Linked DNA regions of Homo sapiens: all the other regions are linked to region 3. Evidence: promoter capture Hi-C in human tissues and cell types (Jung and others, 2019). All regions are on one chromosome and are shown on one strand. Each heading gives the region's core, a stretch centred on a gene start or on the middle of the fragment in contact. The rest is flanking DNA. Distances are from core to core; before and after follow the strand shown. Region 1 overlaps ARSB (arylsulfatase B). Region 2 overlaps ARSB (arylsulfatase B). Region 3 holds the start of SCAMP1 (secretory carrier membrane protein 1).

Region 1 (2,837 bases), core at 315-2,814, 530 kb before region 3:
GGAGACCTCACAATCACGGTGGAAGGTGAGGGAAGAACAAAGGCACATCTTACATGGCAGCAGGCAAAAGCAAAATGAGAGCCAGGTGAAAGGGGAAACCCCTTTTAAAATCATCAGCTCTCGTGAAGCTTGTTCACTACCACGAGAACAGTATGGGGGAATCTGCCCCTGTGATTCAATTATCTCCCACTGGGTCTCCCCTACAACACATGGGAATTATGGGAGCTACAATTCAAGATGAGATTTGGGTAGGGACACAGCCAAACCGTATCAATCGGTTATTTGGTGCCTGGCTGCCAGTCGCACTCCACCAGAACCCTCCTCTTGCTAGCCCAGCTGGACATTCTCCTTGCTGGTGCTCTTAGTCAAGATGTAAAGTCTGGTTAGTGTCTGAGCTGGTGGTCAGAGCACTTATCTGCCCTGAATGCTGCAAACCATTTTAAACCCCTACGAATAATCAAATGTGTATTTGAACAAATCTTCAGTTTCTGGTGTTTAATTTGAATCCCAGGCTATTGTTATAGTGTTTTTTTCTATGATAATTGATGTCCTTTATTTAAACTCATGGGAACAGAAAGGAGTTATCCTGGCTCTCCCCTGATAGTAACAACCCCCCTCACAATTCACTGTGTTGTTGCACTTCTCAAGAAATTACCTATAGAATAGAGAATGCAGGCTGGGCGTGGTGGCTTCTGCCTGTAATCCCAGCACTATGGGAAGCCGAGGTGGATGAATCACCTGAGGTCTGGAGTTCAAGACCAGCCTGGCCGACAAGGCGAAACCCTGTCTTCACTAAAAATGCAAAAATTAGCTGGGCATGGTGGTGGGCACCTGTAGACCCAGCTACTCAGGAAGTTGAGGCATGAGAATCGCTTGAACCCTGGAGGCGGAGGTTGCAGTGAGCCAAGATTGCACCACTGTACTCCAGCCTGGGAGACAGAGTGAGACACTGTCTCAAAAAAAAAAAAAAAAAAAAAAAAAGAATAGAGAATGCAATCTAGGAGGACTCTATGCTTAGAATACTTTGGTCTTATGAAAACGTGATGTTTTGGAGTGTGGCTATGATACTTAAATCTAATATATGTTTAGTAAATATCCAGATAGGAGCCTATTCTGTTCTGTGTACTTTGCTGGTGCTGATGACTAGCATACATAAAAATAGCTAATATTATTTAGCACTGCTTCTATGCCAGGCACAATATTAAGGTGGGTATTTTGTTATCCTCATTTCTCAAATAAGGAAACTTAGGCTCAGAGATTGAGTACTTGCCCAAACCCACAGTGCTTAGCTCCTCTCAGTTCCCTGCATTTCAGTGAAATTAGACATGGGGCAGTAGGGGTGATAGGGGAAAGTGATGATGGTCATAAAACACCTAGACCTATACCTTTTTGTTTATACCTAGTCATCATTTAGCTCAAGTTTTCCTTAACTTCTGGCAGCAGAGTATACCTAATAGTATAACTAGTCTTTAATTAAGAAGCAGCCTTGACACAGACACCCTAGTCTCTAATGTGCGATTGCATAAGGCCTCCTGCTCCCTGTGCCTGGGCTCTCATCTCTCTGGTGGTCACTTGGCTGGCTCTGTCCTGTCCTTATGGTTTCAGCTCCTCCACAAAGCCCAGTCATTGCCTCCCATGAATGGAGAGATCTTATCTCTTTTTCTCACTCACTCCGTGAGGGACAGGACCTTGTCCATCCTGTTTGCTGCCCTTTTTCCAGATCTGGAGTGGTCCCTGGAACATGGCAGCACTCAAGAAAGATGTGTTAAAGGAATAAGTGAGTTCTTTCTTCCAGGCCAAGACTGATGCTTCTTGAAATGCTCCCAATCAACCCTCTTAGACTCCAACATAACTGACCAGGGACCAGATTAGACAAACAATTCTGATATTTGAGGGTTTGATTTACTTAAATTCTCACTGGGGTCCAAGAGCACCCCTTGCCAGCTCCTATAGTTTAAGCAGCAGTATGTAGAATAGCCAATGAAAAGTCAAGGTCACAGAGTAGCTGGACAAAGGCTTAGAAAAAACAATGCAGTGACCTAAGTTAATGTTTAGTGCCTTTAACCTCTATTTTCGGTGAGTGGCCTTTTCCCTAATTATTTGTTCCTCCAAATCATTGAGCCCTTCTGTGTGGTAGGTCCTGTGCTAGGTCTTGGAAATAAAAACATTAAGAAACTTTTTGCTCTTGAGAAGCAGAGTTCATGGGGAAGACAAAGCCATGAACAACTGATTAACAATAGACAGAGCTAAGTATAGTAGAAAATGTGCACATAAAATGTAGCAGAAATACAGAGCAGAGATGAAGACCATCTAGGGCACTAAGTGGCAGGTTCACAGAAGATATGATCTTTAACCCGTGGCACTTTAGGCAAGGGAGCCAACATGTGCAAAGGCAAAATTAGCATGAAAGGGCATGACATATTCTAACAACAGGGAGAAGTTAGTTCTACGTGACTGAAGCTCAGGGCACTTTTTATGGGGGAGGACAGGAGTTGATACCCAAAAAGGAGGTTGGGGGCAGATATGAAGGATTCTATATGTGGGCCTGAAGTTGGAACTTTTTCCCTGATTGGAAAGCAATCAGGTCTTTAAACATGCATGTGGCCTGATTGATTTTGGGTTTTACAAACACCTCTGGTGGGAACTTGAAGCGGTATATAAATTAGCCCAGGAGCCCAGACAGAGGAGTGCCTGACCTAAAGCAATGGGCTGCAGAAGGGGGGATGATTGGAAAGCTGTTTTAAAGGTAGACTTGGCAGAATCAAATGCACATTCTGTCAGAAATGATTCAATGTAGTGCAACAGGGAAAGAGTAGCCAAGCGTGGTGGCACACACT
Region 2 (3,143 bases), core at 514-3,013, 610 kb before region 3:
CCCTCACTGTCCTGCCTGCTCCTCGCCTGCTGGCCTCTCAGTGGACTCCTGCCAGTGGTCGCCTCTCCCTGGACTTTGAGGTTCAGAAGTGGGGCACAGGAGAGTGCAGAGCTGGAAGAAATGTTTACAGGGTGCAGGGATTGGGGAAAGTGCATGTCTCAAGGTGGGCGCTCCTAGGATCCCCTGGCAAAGGCACAGGAGGAGGGAGCTGTCAGAGGACCATGTAGCCTTGAGACCATGGGTGCCTCCTAAGAGAAAACAGTGTCTTTATTTCTGTGCTCCTTTAGGGGGAGAAACAAAGGATGCATTAGCTCCATAGGGACAAGCAAGATGGCCTCACTAAAGCACAGCAGAGCCCTGGGGTGACTTTCATGGGTTTGCTAAAGCCAGGTGTCCTTCCTAAGCCTAGCCAAATCCAAGAGACATTTTCCCAGGAGGGAAGGGGAGTGCGGAGGCCTCATTCTGCAAACATTGCAGCTATTTTAAAGAAACAATTCCAGATTTTATATCTTTTACCTGCCAGGAAATTGCAAATGAGGAAATAAGGAAATAAGTTTGGAGCTAAGTGGAATATGACCAGTGGAGTTAGAGGATTTTCTGGTTGCTTGATTTACGAGGTTTGTCATTTCAGGAATCACTTTGAGCATAAGCTGTTGCTCTCTGGTCATTATCTTTTGTTTGCGTTTCCTTAATCATATCACCTTTTGAGAGATTCCTTTCCCTCAGCTTTCTTCATATTTTCCTTCCTTTTCCATTTGGGCTTTCTTTGGAATTATAATTTAAACAGAGGGAGGCACTGAAACCCTTTCTGACTTGTTTATTCTTTTTTACAAACAACATCCCTTTGTGGGTTTAGTCAGAGATTTGCACTCTTCACTAATCAACACCAAAATAAATAGACTCTTAAAACTGTCAGTGACACGGGCCAGTTCTGCAGCCCGAGTCCTGAAGGGCCAAGCCAGATGGCAAAGCCAGGCCCCTAGCACACATAATGCGTGTCTGTAGGCTCTTGGCTTCAGCAGCATGGGCAGCTGACTGCTTTTCAGATGGCTTCTGTGGGGAGGGAGCAGATTTTCCACTATCCATTTGTTCTTTGGGCATCTCCAGGAATAAACCCTAAGGTGGCACAAGTGTTACTTGACCGTGATTAAAACCTGCTGTGTACTGGCCGAGGCACAGGCTAGAAATTCTGAACTCCTGCTTTGCCACCAGCATGTTCTGTGATTGCGTTCTGATCATGAAGCTTCCCATAGGCTCTCTGGTGTATAAGGTGGAGGGGTAGAGTGGCCCATTTTTCTGAATTTTTAAGTACTGCAGCAGGAGGTATTGCACACATATGTGGGCACATGAGGATATGAGTTCATTTTGCTCAGACCAGACTGACTGGACAGAACCTCCCTTCTGTTCAACGGGATATTATCTCAACACTGTTGAGGTGAGGAGAGAAAGAGCATCTATCGCCTTCTGTGCAGCAGTGGTTTGCTTCGCTCTTGGGAGAGTTTGAGTGTAGCTGAAATATTGTGCTCTGAACTCCCATATAGATAACTAATCAATTGACTGTCTGGACCTCTGAAAGGGGAGTTGAAAGAGATTCTGATATGGGAGCTGCCATCTTCCTCTCCCCCAGCAAGAGATTGGATTTTCTCCTTTAAGCTCATGAGACTATACTGCAAGGAACTCCTAGGTGTGCAGAAGACAGAATAACACACTGGACCAAATAAATTGTTACGTGCAACCAATATGTAAATAAGGATCTCTCAGTTATGTCACAGAAAGAGCCTAGAACAAGCCAGGTCCTCCACTGGATTTGCAGACCTTTTGCCTTTGTGGAGAGGATTTTTGATGGTCAAGTAAAATCTTAGGAGAAGTTGTTTTTTGAGAGAAGATTTGGTTTAATGAAGAGGAGACAGCCACACATGGTAGATAGGGAAGTAACCCCTTGGACTTTCGTATATTACATGTAGAACCTTCTCCATTCACACACACTTCTTTGGACATTGCAGATGGGTGTTAGAATGAAATTGTTTTATATTCTGTTGTGTTTATCAGGGCACCCTTATTTTTTTCTTTTGATTCCTATTGGTGCCCGGTTGCCTTCCTGCCCCTTGCAGCATGGCGTGGCTCTGTAGTTCTGTGCTGAAGTGCTGGGTTGGAACCAGTTCGGCATTTGCCTGTTTACTGCTTCTCTACACATTACAGCTTCCTTCCTTCAGATAGTGTTTGAACAGACCGAAAACATGTTTTTGGATGTCATCCAGGGTTTGGCTTCTGCTTCCCAATAATGCCATAAAAATGCTCTGTCAAATAAATTCTCAGGAACTGAAAAGAACACATTCCCTGCTCCATATGATTGTCAGTAATGGAGGAAGGCTTCAGCTGACCACCTGGCTTGGTGCCCACGGCTTAGGAAAACCAAATCACACAACATCTCTTGGCAGTGCTTTCTAGCAATCAGAATTAATTCTCTGCATGTGATGGATGAGCTTTCCATTTAAGGGAATTTTCGCAGAGCATTTATCTCCACTGGGGCTTTTGGATTCCATAAAATATTATCTTTACTTATCCTGCCTGGTTGCCAATTAGCATACTATATGCTATGAAGTTTTTGAGTCCTAGGGTCAATTTTCTCTTCAGTAAGCTTCCAGAGTTAACCATGGAAAGAATACTTTGATTTGGGGTGTGTGTGTGTGTGTGTGTGTGTGTGTACGTATGCGTGCAAATGTGCTAAGAGGAATGCTTCCCTTTCCCAGCCTGGATATTATAACATCCTTATCATTCAGGGTCCCAGCTGGAAAGAGGTGGCACATTCAAATTAGGGAGGGTTTATTTACAAAGGGACCATTTTAAAAGGTGTGAATGTGTGGGGCAAAATGCTAGGGATAGTGTAGTAATCCAGTGGAGCTGTTACTACTCCTAGACCAGAAGAGAAGAAAGGAAGGGCCAATTACCAGAACCTAGAAGGAGAGAGGCAGATAGAGAAAGAAGTCTGCTTCCAGAGTGACCTTTGGTAGAGAGACTCATGTAGCCAGGCTAAGCAGCGTGTCAGGTGAGGCCATGCACTCTCCTCTTTCCCTCTCACTCCTGCCAGGGCTCCCCATTGGCTAAGCCCAATCAGAAACCTGAAGACAAGTGTCCTTTGACTT
Region 3 (2,829 bases), core at 264-2,763:
AGTCCAATACTAATTGAAACAAAACTGCCAGGAAAAAAAAAAAAGTCTTAAAATGCAACCATGTCACTGAAAGGTACAGGCCAGTTGTACTGAATTTTAAGTGACATTAGGGACAATGAAACAGTGACTGAGTCTAATTCTACACTGCTACAAAGTGAGTCGAGTTGTCAATAATAATCAGGGTCATTTCATTAAAATAATCCTCCTTGGAATTATCAGGCATTTAATAATCAGAGCAGAAATAGTTTTCCTCTTCCAGGATTCTTAATGAAAGATAAAACCAGGAGTAAAAAGATGTAAACTCAACAAGCCAGAAGTGACACTTGTGTGACCACAAATTAGAGTTCCTGTTTTATTCTGTGTGACTGCAAATTAAAGTTACTACTGCACATGGCCGGGGGGATTGAGAAACAACTTCAACCAACAGTTGGAAACAAATTACACGTGCTAACAGTTACACTCATTAGGAAATTCAGAATACTTTCAAAGAGAGAGTTATTTAGATGTTGCATTCATTTAAACGCAGACGATGAATATCTCAGCCGCCTTCCTTTGCAGGATTCTGTGCCAAGCCCTTCCGAAGCCGGGGTTGATAAGGTCGACTCCAAGAAGAAAAGCAGCTCAAGTAGGAAATGGTATCCTCACATAGCCCAGAGAACCGGTGACGCACTAGGAGCTTGGAAAATATCCCATCGTTTACCTTGCTAGAAGCAGCTGGGTAGGGAAGAGGTCGTCCACGTGCACTATTGTTTTCCAGATATGTTTATTTTTAAGTTTTGCTTTGGTATCAATAACCTCAACCTCAACCTAACAGAAAGAGGGGGGATGGCAGCGCCACTGGTGGTATTTGGGTGCAACACAAGTTTAAAAAATAAAAACATAACCTTTTTTTTTTTAATTGCAGCATACTCGGTGCCCTCACCTCTCTCCTCCTCCACACCTCTGCCATCACCCCACGCAGCTCTCCGCCGCCGCCACCTCGGGTCCCCATGACAACCCCACCCCAGGGCGGGCCCCCCTCCGCCGACTCCCGGCCCTGCCAGCCACACTTGCTTGGCAAGGGGCGACTCTACCTGCCCTCGGCTTTCTCTCCTGAGAGGCGGGCCAGGACCCCTCCGGGCGCGCGGGCCCAGTCCCGGCTGCAGACACGACCCTCACCAGTCGGGGACGTGTGGAAGGGCGACCGGGCACGAGCTGAGGAGGTTCCACCCCCAAGCCCCAAAACCCAAAGGAGTGACACGGGGCCGGGGCGCGACCCCAAATGGAGGACGGCGGCCCCGCGCCCCTCTCTGGGCTGCTAAGGGGAGCCGAGGGGCAGACGCAGTGGGCGCGAAGGAACTCGTCCGTTTTCACAAACAACGACGCGTCGCGGCGGCAGGAGATGCTGGGGCCGAAGCTCACCTTGAAGGGATTGTTGAGATCCGGGTCGGCAAACGGGTTACTGTCGAAATCCGACATCTCTCTGGCTCTCGGCGTCACCCACCCGACCCAGGCGCAGAGAGAGAGACGAGGCGAGGCCGCCGCCCCCCTGCGCGCTCACGTCGCCGCCGCCGAGCAGATCCGGGTGCAGCTCGCGGGCCACCCAGCCGGCCGCGCCACTGAGCATGCCCGGTGCGGCGGGCTCCTGGCCGCGGCGCAGCTCGCGTTCGCCATCCCGTTCCTCCGGGCCCGGATCCCACGCTCCGGGCTTTAGCTGCGACCGAGTAGGCAGTCGGGGCGAAGGAAACGGGAACTGAAAGCGATGAAAAGCGTTCCACACGCCACGAGCCCGCGGGATCCTCGGAGAGTATGGAACCCTTCCCCTCCGCTCTCAGCCGGAGGCCAGCTGCGTCCAGCCGGGCTCGGTCTTCTGAACACCGATTTCAAATCAGGTCCTCGGGGCCCAGCGTCACTTAGGGAAGTGGTGGCATTTTGTGGTAAGGACGCACACTTGTCAGGTTGGGGGAGGCAGCCTGAGTCGTGGGCCGCGCACCCCGGGAGCAGTGCCGTTAGACCGTGGGACGCGGGCACTGGAGAGGCTACTGCACCGCCCTCCGCAAATTACCTCCCCGGGGCGGGGGCGCGGCCGCTGCTAAGGATTTTTGCATACCCCTGACCCCACCTGAGAATCCCGGCCTCCCATCTTCCGGTCTCTCTGACTCTAGGTTGCTGCTAAATCACGGAGAGCAGCCTTGGCGCTGCCGGTCCCAACTTGATCCAAGGAGCCTTGAGAAGGAGATGAGATTCAGTACCAGGGGCCGGCCGTGGCTCCCATCCTCCGGAATCTGCAAAATGGCTACTTCTTCAGAAATAATGGGGAGAGGGATGGCAAGAGGCCAGAGATCAAGGCCCTCGAGTATTAACTTGAGCATTTGGGCACAAAATAGACACTTTTGGATTTTCCCGTCTTTTCCAACACCAAGGATGAGATTATCAAAAGATGTGTTAAATTAATTTGTACCGGCCGGGCGCGGTGGCTTACGCCTGTAATCCCAACACTTTGGGAGGCCGAGGCGGGCGAATCACAAGGTCATGAGTTCGAAACCAGCCTGGCCAATATGGTGAAACCCCCGTCTCTACTAAAAATACAGAAATTAGCCGGGAGTGGTGGCGTACGCCTGTAGTCCCAGCTACTCTGGAGGCTAAGGCAGGAGAATCGCTTGAATCCGGGAGGTGGAGGTCGCAGTGAGCCGAGACCGGGCCACTGCACTCCAGCCTGGGAGACAGAGCGAGACTCTGTCTCAAGAAAAAAAAAAAATCAATTTGTACCATTCCTTGCCCCACCCTGCCGAACTTATTGAAAGAGCATCGCTTTCCTCACTTTTCTCCTCTAACAGAAAAGCACTTAGA

Evidence for each region. The method cuts DNA at HindIII sites, captures the fragments that hold promoters and counts their contacts. A contact is called where the count stands out against the background at its distance.
Region 1: a contact is called between a fragment that was not itself captured here and the fragment with the promoter of SCAMP1 in region 3, in 1 of the 25 tissues and cell types used here (pancreas).
Region 2: a contact is called between a fragment that was not itself captured here and the fragment with the promoter of SCAMP1 in region 3, in 2 of the 25 tissues and cell types used here (IMR-90 fibroblasts and dorsolateral prefrontal cortex).

The regions. Positions count from the first base shown.
Region 1 is chr5:78,890,393-78,893,229 of GRCh38, reverse strand. The region is part of intron 4 of ARSB (arylsulfatase B); the gene reads left to right. Among named protein-coding and RNA genes, the nearest start is that of ARSB, 93 kb to the left of the region's middle. The HindIII fragment of the contact is 6,969 bases long and covers 1-2,837 here.
Region 2 is chr5:78,972,079-78,975,221 of GRCh38, reverse strand. All of the region lies in intron 1 of ARSB (arylsulfatase B), which reads left to right. Among named protein-coding and RNA genes, the nearest start is that of ARSB, 12 kb to the left of the region's middle. RefSeq lists enhancers at 1-69, 70-589. The HindIII fragment of the contact is 3,671 bases long and covers 1-3,143 here.
Region 3 is chr5:78,359,301-78,362,129 of GRCh38, reverse strand. SCAMP1 (secretory carrier membrane protein 1) reads right to left here and starts at 1,513. Exons shown (of 9, transcript NM_004866.6): 1 at 1,402-1,513. The coding sequence starts at 1,458. SCAMP1-AS1 (SCAMP1 antisense RNA 1) reads left to right here and starts at 1,589. Exons shown (of 2, transcript NR_105014.1): 1 at 1,589-1,916; 2 at 2,145-2,829. RefSeq lists enhancers at 754-873, 1,268-1,864, 1,784-1,943, 1,974-2,063, 1,865-2,461 and silencers at 964-1,083, 1,514-1,603. The HindIII fragment of the contact is 19,046 bases long and covers 1-2,829 here.